Regions from separate parts of the Homo sapiens genome. Here region 2 is linked to region 1. The links are contacts of gene promoters, found by promoter capture Hi-C in blood cells and fetal thymus (Javierre and others, 2016). All regions are on one chromosome and are shown on one strand. The core of a region is centred on a gene start or on the middle of the fragment in contact, and the rest is flanking DNA. Distances in the headings are between cores, read along the strand shown. Region 1 holds the start of PLCH1-AS1 (PLCH1 antisense RNA 1). Region 2 overlaps PLCH1 (phospholipase C eta 1).

Region 1 (5,907 bases), core at 2,293-4,792:
GGAACAACCATCTAATGTCATTACATTTATTAGACTCCCCAAAATGTTCAAAAGTATTATATACATAGTCACCCAGCTCCTTCCTTCTTGTACTTCCTTCAGATCAAGCCATACTTGATCTGGCCATAAAGGTACCCTAAATATCTCCACTTGATAACCCTAACTAACAGTGCTCTTTTTACTACTGAAGATAGAGTCATTAGTGTCTTTAAATCCAATCAGATTAGACTCTCAATTCTAGAAGCCCCAGAACCAATTACTCCTGATAACAAAATCATCTATGTTAACCAGGGTTCTCCAAAGAAACAGGGTGATATGGTTTGGCTCTGTGTCCCCACCCAAATCTCACCTTGAATTATACTCCCATAATTCCCATGTGTTGTGGGAGGGACCCAGTGGGAGATAATTTGAAGCATGGGGCAATTCCCCCATACTGTTCTCATGGTAGTGAATAAGTCTTACGAGATTGATGGTTTTATCAAGGATTTTTGCTTTTGCATCTTCCTCATTTTCTCTTGCTGCCACCGTGTAAGAAGTGCCTTTCTCCTCCTATCATGATTCTGAGGCCTCCCCAGTCATGTGGAACTTGTAAGTCCGATTAAACCTCTTTTTCTTCCCAGTCTTGGGTATGTCTTTATCAGCAACATGAAAACAGACTAATACATAGGGCCAGTAGGAGATAGAGAGAGAGAATGTATGTGTGTGTGAGAGAGAGACAGAGAGAGAGGGATTGAGAGAGATTTATTATAAGGAATGGGCTGATGTGATTATGGGGACTGAGAAGTCCCGGCAGAAGAGCTGATGGTACATACATTCCAGTTTGAGTAGGAAGGCCTGAGAAGCAAGTGAGCTGATAGTGTTGGTTCCAGTCTGACAGTGAAGGTCTGAGAACCAGGAAAGCCAATGATGTAAGATTCAGTCTGAATTTAGGCCCAAAAGCAGAAGACTTCTGTCACAGTTTGAAGACAGGAAGAGAGAAAACATTCTTTCTCACTTATATTAGGTTGGTGCAAAAGTATTTTGCCATTACTTTTAATGGCAAAAACCATGATTACTTTGCACCAACAGAATACTTTTAGTCCATTCAGGCCTCCAAAAAATGGAAAGAGGCCCGCACACATTGCAGATGGAAATCTGCTTTATTCAGTTTACTAATTCAAATGTTAACCTCATCAAGAAATACCCACATAGACATTCCCATAAGTAATGTTTAGCTAAATATCTGGGCACTACATGGCCCTGTTAAGTTGACACATAAAATGAACCATCACACCTTCTAAACACATCAAATCAGGAGGCACATAATGACATTTTGTCTAATTACTAGTGATGTTAACTTAGATCACTTGGATAAGGCAGTCTTTCAAATTTTCTTCACTTAACATTATTTTCCTCTTTGTATTTGGTAAATTTCTCGTGGCAAGATAATTGAGACCATGTAAATATCCTGTTTTTCATCACACCCTTACCTATTAATGATTCTTGATTGAGGTAATTATTACTGTAATGTTATCAAATGATGATTTTATATTTCTGTTATTTCTTCTATATTTATTAATTTGAATTCTCTTATTTATTTCTTGAATGATTGGTATCAGTATGGACTCATCAATATATATTTTTTATTTTGGGGGTTATAGTCCATTATTCTCATTATTAATTTTGTTACTCAACTTGTCATAGATTTGGGCATTAGGGGATCTTCTTTAAATCATATTTAAACAGCTTTGCTGTATGAATCCTCATGGTTAGGTATGTAAGGTTTGTATAAATAAACAAATTTTCTCTATTATTATAGCAATCCAGGTTTCTTCGCATAGAAATGCCTTAAAAAGTTTTTTTATCTTAAAAATGTTTAATTAAAAGTACTACACTAGATAATGGAAACTTAGTAACCACCCCAGATAAAAACAAAACAAAATAAAACAACAACAACCACAATGACCCGTCCCACCACTACCAAGTTATTTTACCCTTCCAGATCAATAATTGTTCATGGGCATTGTATTGAAATGCTGTAAAGACATTTTCACTGGCTAGAGACACTATTTCAAATGAAATATAAAGAAACATGAAAACATTGACATTTTAAAGTGACTCCTATGGATTTGATTTCGTGAATAATTAAAATATAGCATTTAGTGCTCTTATACATTTTATAACTCATTCATTTATATCAGTCTTTATATCTGAAAGAGGTTTAATGTGTTGTTTAAATTCATTGTTTTCTTTTACTGCAAGCCACAGGAAGAAATTCTAGCTATTTCATCCCAAAAGGAATGTATTGAAGGGATATAAGGTAACTAATAGAATGGAAGAGAAACCAAAAATCTGGCTCAGAAAAGAAGTATCAAAAAGAACTGCAGGAATCCATAAAGAAGGAACTAACAAGCAGACCCTTTGAAAAGCGTCTATCTCCCTAAAGATAGTCTTTGTGGGATTCTGTTCAAGATCCAAATATTAAAGACAGAGCAAGTAATCTAACTTAACTGCCAGTCCCAAAAAGATTGGTTCCCCTTGGAGAGAATGACGTCTTGGTTTGGGTTCCCCCAGAGCAGACTCTGAAACAAGGTTTCAAGAACAAGTGGTTTATTTTGGATATGATCCTAGAAAACCTCAGTAGGGGAGTGGAGAAGAGAGGCAGGGAAGGAAGAGAAGCCAATAAAGGATGTGTTATCAAAGCAGTTCCCACAATGAGCAATTGGAGCTTTATTCCACAGGGAGACAATCTAGAACACACATCAGAGTTATCTCAACCCAGAAGTGAGGAAGCTAGGATATTTTTCAACATTATCTATTATTTACACAATTTGCTGGGGGCTTCTGGGCATTAACTCCTGGGCACTTTTGGCTTGTCCTGTGTGTGAGATGAGTGTTCTATTGCAACCAGACGAAAGTTCTCAAGCAGAGACACAGGAGTTTGCAGTGACAGCAATCTTCTGTGAGTAGAAGCAAGTGCTGAGAAGACATGGGCAGAGCATGGCCATGTCTGCTGCAGTGGTTTCCTTAAGTAAGATTGGGATGCTGTTTCTAGAAAGAGATTGGCATCTTGGCAAGCAAAAGTAGTCGATATTTATTTTGCCATGAAGGCAAATGTCTCATTTTACAGGAAAGTTGTTTTCATGTCAAATGCTGTGTATAGTATGAATTAGGATGTTTTCAGCTACATGGAGGAGCCTACCAATTATAAATGGCTTAAAAGAATACAGATTGTATCAGGCATGATAAACTACTTTATGCTATGGTAACAAACAACCCCCACCAGTGGCTTAACACAACAGAAGTTAATTTCTTACTCACACAAAGTAACAAAGTTGGCTGAGGGTTCAGGCAGCTCGTCACAGCAGCTGTTTTTCAGGCATTGGCTCTTCCTTCCAGGCTGTTTGATCTTATGACACCTCCGTAAATATACATGCTCCCACGATTACTACTGCAGGGGAAGAGCAGGTAGAGAGTCAAACACGAGATAGCACACGACGCTTCTGGCAACATTTCATTTCATCTACCGAGTCATGGAGCCATGCTTTGGTGGAGAAATGCTGTGTCCCTGTGTGTCCAGGAGTAGAGAAGAACAGGATATCGGTAACTACAGGGAATAACTACTGCAAGGTTTGGAGGGAGATAAGTCCAGGGGTGTTTCAGTGGCTTGAGTGCCATCCCTTACTTGCTAAGGACATCTTTTTGTCACATAATGACTCCAGTAGCTCCAAATACCACTTCTTCTCACATCAATATTCATAGGCAGGAAGAGAGGGTTGGGGTCTCTCTGCCTCTTTTTTCTAATCAGGTGCTGTGGAGCTTCTCTTCTCCCACCCTGACTCTTTATCAAGGAAGAGAATCTTTCCTAAGAGCCTCTCAATAGACTTCCAATTATGCTTCACTAGTCAGAACTGGGTCATATGCCTACCTCTAGCTGCAAGGGGGCATCTGACATTTGCAGCCTCACTCATGAAAGTCAGGTTCTGTCAGCTTAGAAAAAGGGGTAGGAGAATGGCTGCTGTGTTCAGAATCAGCAATCAATACCACGTGTCTGCCACACACAGCAACAATATTCTCACTGTCCATGTATAGGATTATAAAACATGTGCCCCAAATCACTATGCTGTTGAAACACAACTCACTGAATCCCCACCATGTGGGAGTCTGAATCACAATCACCGACGGCAGAGTTGTATTTAATCACAACATACCAATTCCTGAGGAAATAGAGTATTTCTTGAAATCCAATATCAAGCAACTTCCTGGGAACATCTATTTGAAGGATCAGATGAGAAATCGTGGCTCTTATGTAACAATTCATAACAATTTAAGAGAAGTTTCTGTTATACAGAGTTTTCCAGAACTCATAATCAAAACGGTAGACTACAAATAAGTAGAAGGCTGGAGATTGACCAAGAAAATTTTCCCTCCTGAAAGATAAACTACAACTTGGCTTATTTTTCAAAGAATCAACTTCTCAGACTCTAGGCAGATAAATGAACACAAAATAACTTACTACTGTGTATTTTAGAATCATACACATTATCTGAGACTTTAATAACAGTTAAACAGATGGTAGATGGTAGCAGAGATGCCTGTTTCAAATGACAGTGGTCTAACAGCTCTCAGTTAAATTGCTTGTGACAGCAAAAGGAAAAAAAGACTTGCAATGCTATCAAAAGCTAAAACTTAAAAATAATTATAATAAACTGGAAAGAAATTTACTAAGTGGTGCTAGACTGAGGAAAAAAAATTCTATTCCATCTTTTACTCCGGAAACAAAGACAGCCTGAAAACAGTAGGAATATACTTTGTATCCCCTCTGTCTGCCTTAGGGAGCCAGAGTCTGCCTCAACCAAAAAAGGACACCTGCTTATTTAGGAAATGCTTTGAGATTCAATTTCACTTCCACTGAATCACTTCCTAGCTTCCACTAAGCCAGAAATTAAAGTGGGAACTCAGAGCCAGCTGAGCCATGATCCAGGAGGAGGTATCTTCCTACTGCCAGACATCCCATCTGAAAGGCCACCAACCAAATCACAAATCTAGGTGACTAAATTGCTTGATGTAACTGCTAAATACTGATGCATCATCCACAGCTTTCCAGAGCAGATACTGATGCACATTAATTTACAAATTTCAGACTATGGAGATGCTAATAATTGTGTCCATTAGGTTAACCCAGGAAAAACAGGCAAGATGGAAGCTGGGGTTGGGGAACCCAGACATAGAGATGTGGGGATAGAAATGGGGGTTGTTCTTTAGGAATCAGGTAAGCTGGACTGTTAGTTTCTCAGATTTGTACCTCATGTTCCAGACACGTCTATGCCTGCTGCATGTTCAAAGGGATCAAACCCTTTTGTATATTGAGACTGAAATATTCAGAGTGGAGGAATAGGCTGGGAGATCACCTAGGATACATTTCTGAAAGTAGACATTAAGTTCAATAATGGCAGTGTAGAAGGATATTAGTCACCTATACCCAAAACTGATAGTGGATATTAACAAGCTACCTTACTTATTACTGAGTATGACACATTCTCTTGGGTATCTCCCCTTTCCCCCCAGTTTCATCTTCTAAAGTTGACTTGATTCAGGTACTCAAGGCCCAGGTGAGCTCACCCTTCTTCAATAGGTTAGGTGACTAAATGCTTCAGAGTTTTCTGCAAAATAAAAAGGAACAATGAGAGAAGAAAAGCTCAGGTTGCCTCTCAGCATTGATTGTTCACATTGGGTTTTATTTAGGGAAATCTCCAGAATTATCTTCATGTTTATATATGAAAATAAAAGAGTATTTAGACCTTTATAAAAAGATAGTACCTTCCTAAGACTGGATTTTGGATAAAAAAACAGTATTTAGGTTGTATCAAGCTTTGAAAACTGAAAACAAAAAAAGTGATTGTAGTTTCTTAAATAGACTCTGGGCCT
Region 2 (6,084 bases), core at 1,786-4,285, 260 kb before region 1:
TTGAGATGGAAGGATTGCTTGAGCCCTGGAGGTCGAGGCTGCAGTTGAGCCTTGATTATGCCACTGTACTTCGGCCTGAGTGACAGAGTGAGACCCTGTCTCAAAATAAATAAATGAATGAATGAATGGATGAATGAATGACACCTCACTGAAGAAGATATACTACTGGCAAACAAGCATATGAAAAGGTGCTTCATATAGATCATTAGCAAAGTAGAAATTAAAACAGCAATGAGTACCACCACACAGCTATTAGAAAGGCCAAAATCCAGAACACTTGTAACACCAAATGCTGGCAAAGATGTAGAGCAACAGGAACTATCATTTATTGCTGGCAGCAATGCAAAATGATACAAAATATCTTATACTTTAGAAGATAGCTTGGCTGTTTCTTACAAACTAAACATACTCTTACCACACAGTCCAGCAGTCACCCTCCTTGGTATTACCCAAATGAGTTAAAAACTTATATCCACACAAAAACTTGCACATGGATGTTTGCAGGATCTGTATTTATAAATTTCAAAATTTGGAAGCAACTAAGATGTTCATCAGTAGCTCAGTGGATAAATAAACTGTGGCACATCCAGACAATGGAATATTATTTAGTGCTAGGATGAAATGAGCTCTCAAGCCATGAAAAGACGTAGAACATTAAATGCATATCACCAAGTGAGAGAAGCCAATTGGAAAAGGCTATGTACTGTGTGATTCCAACCATAAGACATCCCGGAAAAGGCAAAACTATAGAGACAGTAAAAATTATCAGTGCTCGTCAGGGGCTAAGGGGGAGGGAGGGAGAATGCAGAGCATAGCAGACTTTAGGGCAATGAGACTATTTTGTATGGTACCATAATTAATCTGTATGTTTAATAAAGAGCGTAAATCTGCAGGTTCTATTTATAAGATGTAAATGCTTATCGAGTTCTGAATGTGTAACATATTATATTACCTAGACCTCTTAGGAGGTGGAATATTTTGTAAGTCTTAAAAGCAAGTTGAAAAGAAAAAAAAGGTGATCAATTTAAAACCATCCTTGCCTGAATATTGACCAAACAACTTCAAACTGGATACAAGATGCAGGGGAAATACATCTCTAATGTAATATAAATTGTCTAAAAAATAAATGAATGTAGTATACTTCAGTAGTTGTTTTTACCTACTGTGTTCACACAAACGGGGCCATGAAAGACTCAACCTGCTTTGGAACTGCTGAGGCTGGGTTTCCCATCAGTTTATCATCTTCCAGCTAGAGGTGTTATCTTGCAAGCCACACATCCTTTCTGGGCCTCAGTTTCCTTCTGGCTACACCATGAGAGGTTTGTCTTAGTTGAAGTCTAACATCCCTTTCACTTGAATCCCTTTAGTGAGCCCTAGGGCCTGGCTCTTCTGAATCTGGTGGAAGCTAAAATGAGGCTTATCGCACAGCTCTCTTCCCTTGCCCCAGGCCTACTAACTCTATTTATTATCTCCACCTCCATTATCTCTAAATCTGAAGGCCGAAGGGAGAGCATCTTTTCATTAGTCTCCTGCTGATGCCTGAATCCCACCCCTAGAGATTCTGATGTAATTGGCCTGGGTGTAACTTGGGAGTCAGGAGTCTTAAGCTTCCCAGATGATTCTAATGTGTAGTCAAGGTTGAGGCTCACTGATGTAAAGTCTTATCAATGTTCCTAATGCATAGTAGGTTCTCAGTAACTGGGAAACAGGATTATGGGAGTTCAGTGCATGAAAGAATTTTAGGTAAACTGGAGGGAGAGATTCCTGGGGGCATTTCATGAAGGCAGTGGCATGTTACCCAGCCCTTAAAGAAAAGCAAAAAGATCTGGAAGCTGGAAAGCCTGGGCCATTGATGTGAGCTAATGTCCAAGTATGTGAATATTACATATATGTCTGTAGGTTTGTGCTTCTGTCCCGAAAGTGTTGAAGGTCTCAACTCTGATTGGATGATCATCCTCTGAGAGGATGTTACATGTATTATATGTTACATTATCTATTGCTATGTAACAAATTACCCCACATCTTTTGTCTTAAAATAATAATTATCTATTATCTTTCACCGTTTTTTTTTTTGAGATGGAGTTTTGTTCTTGTTGCCCAGGCTGGAGTGCAGTGGCATGGTCTTGGCCATGTGATTCTCCTGCCTCAGCCTCCCGAGTAGCTGGGATTACAGGCGCCCACCCCCACGCCTGGCTAATTTTTCTATTTTTAGTAGAGACGGAGTTTTGCCTTGTTGGCCAGGCTGGTTTTGAACTCTTGACCTCAGGTGACCCACCCACTTTGGCCCCCCAAAGTGTTGGGATTACAGGCGTGAGCCACTGTGCCCGGCCTTGTCTTTCGCTGTTTCTATAGGTCAAAAATACATGTGAGGCACAGAGGGATGGCTTATTTCTTCTCATCAGTATCTGTGGCCTCATCTGAAATACTTGGGGTTAGAATCATCTGTAGATTCATTTATTCTCATGTTGTCTTAGTTCATTTTGGGCTGCTATAACAATGCCATAAACTGGGTAGCTTATAAATAACAGAAATTTATTTCTCACAATTCTGGAGGCTGGGAAGTCTAAGATCAAGGCATTGGCAGATTTGATGTCTTGTGAGGGCCCTTTCCTGGATTGCAGACTGCTGACTTCTTGCTGTGTTCTCATATGGTGGAAGGGTAGGGCTAGCTCTCTAGGGTCTCTTCTATAAGGGACCTAATCCTAATCATAAGGGTGGAGACTAAAGGTCCCACCTCCTAATACTATCACATTGGGGGGCATTAGATTTCACCATAGGAATTTGGGGCAGACACAAACATTCAATATAGCACATGTCTGTGGCTGATGCTGGCTGTTGGGTGAGGGGCTAGCTGGGCCTGTGAGCTAGAACACTTAAATCTGGGCTTCCTTACAGTGTGGTAGCTGGGTTCCAATGCAAGCATCTTGAGAGATAGGGAACCAGGCAGAAGTGGTATCCTTCTTGTGACCTCATCTTGGAAGACTCATAGCATCATTTCCAGCTGATTTTATTGTTAGAAACGAGTCACTGAGTCCAGCCCATACTCAAGGGAAGGTGAATTTAGATTCTACCTTTTGAGGGGAGGAATGTATAATAATTTGCAGATTTTTTTTTTTTTTTTGAGACGGAGTCTTTGTCGCCCAGGCCGGAGTGCAGTGGCAGGATCTCAGCTCACTGCAACCTCCGCCTCCTGGGTTCAAGTGATTCTCCTGCCTCAGCCTCCTGAGTAGATGGGATTATAGGTGTGTGCCACCATGCCCGGCTAATTTTTGTATTTTTAGTAGAGATGGGATTTCACCATGTTGGTCAGGCTGGTCTGGAACTCCTGACCTCGTGATCTGCCCACCTCGGCCTCCCAAAGTGCTGGGATTACAGGTGTGAGCCACCGCACCTGGCCTAATTTTTTGTATTTTTAGTAGAGACACGGTTTCACCAATTGGCCAGGCTGATTTCAAACTCCTGACCTCATGATCCACCCACCTTGGCCTCCCAAAGTGCTGGGATTACAGGCGTGAGCCACTGCACCTGGCCAGCAGATTTTTTTTTTTTTTTTTTTTTTTTTTTGAGATAGAGTCTTGTTCTGTCACCAGGCTGGAGTGCAGTGGCGCTGTCTCACCTCACTGCAACCTCTGCCTCCTGGGTTCAAGTGATTCTCCTGCCTTAGCCTCCCGAATAGCTGGGACTACAGGTGCGTGCCACCATACCCAGCTAATTTTTGTATTTTTAGTAGAGATGGGATTTCACTATGTTGGCCAGGCTGGGCTCGATCTCTGGACCTCGTGATCCATCCGCCTTGGCCTCCCAAAGTGCTGGGATTACAGGCGTGAGCCACTGCGCGCAGCCCAGATTGTATTTTTTAAACGACCTCACTTCATAAAGTCCTAGTTGCTATTATGGCTTGACTTTGGAATATGAAGATATGACTTCAAGTCTCATTACTATTTTTTCCTAGCAGCATTGGGTGAATCAGTTAATCTCTAACACCTTGTCATCTTCTTTAATGTTGTAGAAGGAGAGAAGAGTACTCACCTCAGAAGATTAATAAGGGACAAATGAGCATCATGTATGTGAATATATTTTGCTAACTATAAACAAATGCACATTATTAAAAATAATGAACATATATAACTGCATTATTTGTATAACTAAAAATACTTTCTAAAGAAGAGAACTTTGTAGTATATAGTATTGGCTGGGGAGAGGGCAGAGGTTGGGTTGTTTTCATAATTAGCTATATTCTATTGTATTTTGTAGTCAGTTCCATACAGTAGTAAGACTCCCTCAGCCTTAGGGAGTAGGATAAGCAGTCAGATTAGCCAGGTGGGTATGAGGCAAGAGGAAGTGGCCAGTCCAGCACGGAGCCAGAGAAAAGGCAGGATAGGCAGGAATTAGGTAAAATCCCTGGTGTTGTGGGTTAAGGTTGGGCCATAGGGAGCCAAGGAGAAGCTCTGACAAAAGCTTCAGGAGCCTTCACCAATTGTTCCATTAATGAATAGACAACACTCTGATAATATATATTTTTTTCACTAAGTGACTGATTTTATCCTGGGATACGTTTACAAAATTCTAGGTGGTTTTAGTAGGAGAGATGACAAATTGTTTTCCACCTGTGGGTTTTGCTTCATGCCAGCCTTGCTTGGTTTTGCCTGGCTTTATTCTGTGAACAGAAAGGAGGTTGGAATTCTGAAAAGTTGCTTTAGCCAAATCCTGTGAACAAAGGAGGCCTTGTTCAGGGTTATGCACGTCAGCTTTTGGAGGAATTTAATTCATCGACTCAGATCTCTGCTTTTCAAGTTGTTGCTCTAGCTAGCATTGTGTTTCTCTGTGTCTGTGATGGAGCAAGTCTTATGTAGGAGCAGGCACTGCTAGTTTACCTTGCTGAGGCCTGTGCCCAGCTCTAGTTACATCAATGAGTTCAGCCTGGGCAGATCCAGGCCCTAGCAGTCCTAAATGGACACCAGCAATGAACCAAAAAGAGGGAGGCACATTTTATTAATGTGCTTGGCTCATTCATGGCCACATGGATGCTGTACTGACACAAAATTCAGGAATTGGGAATGATAGCTTCGTTCCTGTTAGTTGCCTCCCCACCTGCAACTGAAATTTCCTGAAATGTTACCAGTGTTGACTAGTTTGGATCTTGGACTACTAGGAGTGAGGCTGGGAGCACATATACTGGTCCTGAAACCTGCTCTCTGATGGTAGGTTTATTTCCCCTGGAGATGGGTAACATTGAGCCCTGAAAGGTGGTTTGAAAAAGTTACTGTTTTGATATGCTAAATGTCATTCTAGACCCTGGGAAGACTTGTGAGAAATTTCTTAGGGCCTGGGGGATTCCAGCTCCATGTGTGGAGAAGTTGTATGCCGTATATGTTGCCCCGTAATGCTGGGCAACCGATGGCATTATGCTACCAGTGTGAGCGTGTGGCTGCCGTTTTCTTCATTTTTGTCTCATTCTGTTTCCCTTGACAGGGCAATTTGGTTTTGATGCTGTGCCAGAAATCTTCTGACAATGAGTTACTGGAACTTGGAAAAAAGGAACTGTGTGCAGTACCGCAGGCATTTTCTGGTGGACAACAGTGTGTTTCATGGTAAGCTGTCTCTTGTATTTATGTAGTTGGATCTTTTATTTTGTTTCTGACAGGACTTTTATTCTAGCACTCTAGATGCAAATATGGTATAATTGTTGGATGGAACCAAGAGCTTGAGTTAACTTGTTTATGAATAATTACCCAAGAAGTCCCATTGCACTTACTATCTCCACTTGTAAGGAATGGGCCCCACCTCAACGACTATAATAGTGTTATCTCTTTCTATTTCGTAGGGTAGTTGGTACCAGTGCCTTTCCTCTTCTACCACACTGTCAACTCCAGTAATATCCCTTTCTGATGTTTGTAATTATTTTGGGTGAGGGCCATATAATTGTTCAGTTAATATTTGTGGATCACCAGTCAATGCTTATTACCAGCATAGCATGGCCTTCCAAATTGAGATGTTAGAGGGTGCTTGTGGCCACCTGCTTTAGACACTTATTGAAGAGAAGTCCACCCACTTTTATTGCTGTCCTTTAGGGCTTTCAGACTT

The links. The method cuts DNA at HindIII sites, captures the fragments that hold promoters and counts their contacts. A CHiCAGO score of 5 or more calls a contact.
Region 2: a contact is called between a fragment that was not itself captured here and the fragment with the promoter of PLCH1-AS1 in region 1, in 1 of 17 cell types (megakaryocytes). The highest score is 6.4, in megakaryocytes.

The regions. Positions count from the first base shown.
Region 1 is chr3:155,446,819-155,452,725 of GRCh38, reverse strand. PLCH1-AS1 (PLCH1 antisense RNA 1) reads right to left here and starts at 3,542. Exons shown (of 2, transcript NR_046746.1): 1 at 3,301-3,542. It also overlaps a transcript of PLCH1 not described here. The HindIII fragment of the contact is 6,189 bases long and covers 1-5,852 here.
Region 2 is chr3:155,703,653-155,709,736 of GRCh38, reverse strand. PLCH1 (phospholipase C eta 1) reads left to right here. Exons shown (of 23, transcript NM_014996.4): 2 at 5,473-5,591. The coding sequence starts at 5,513. Among named protein-coding and RNA genes, the nearest start is that of PLCH1, 38 kb to the left of the region's middle. The HindIII fragment of the contact is 2,851 bases long and covers 1,610-4,460 here.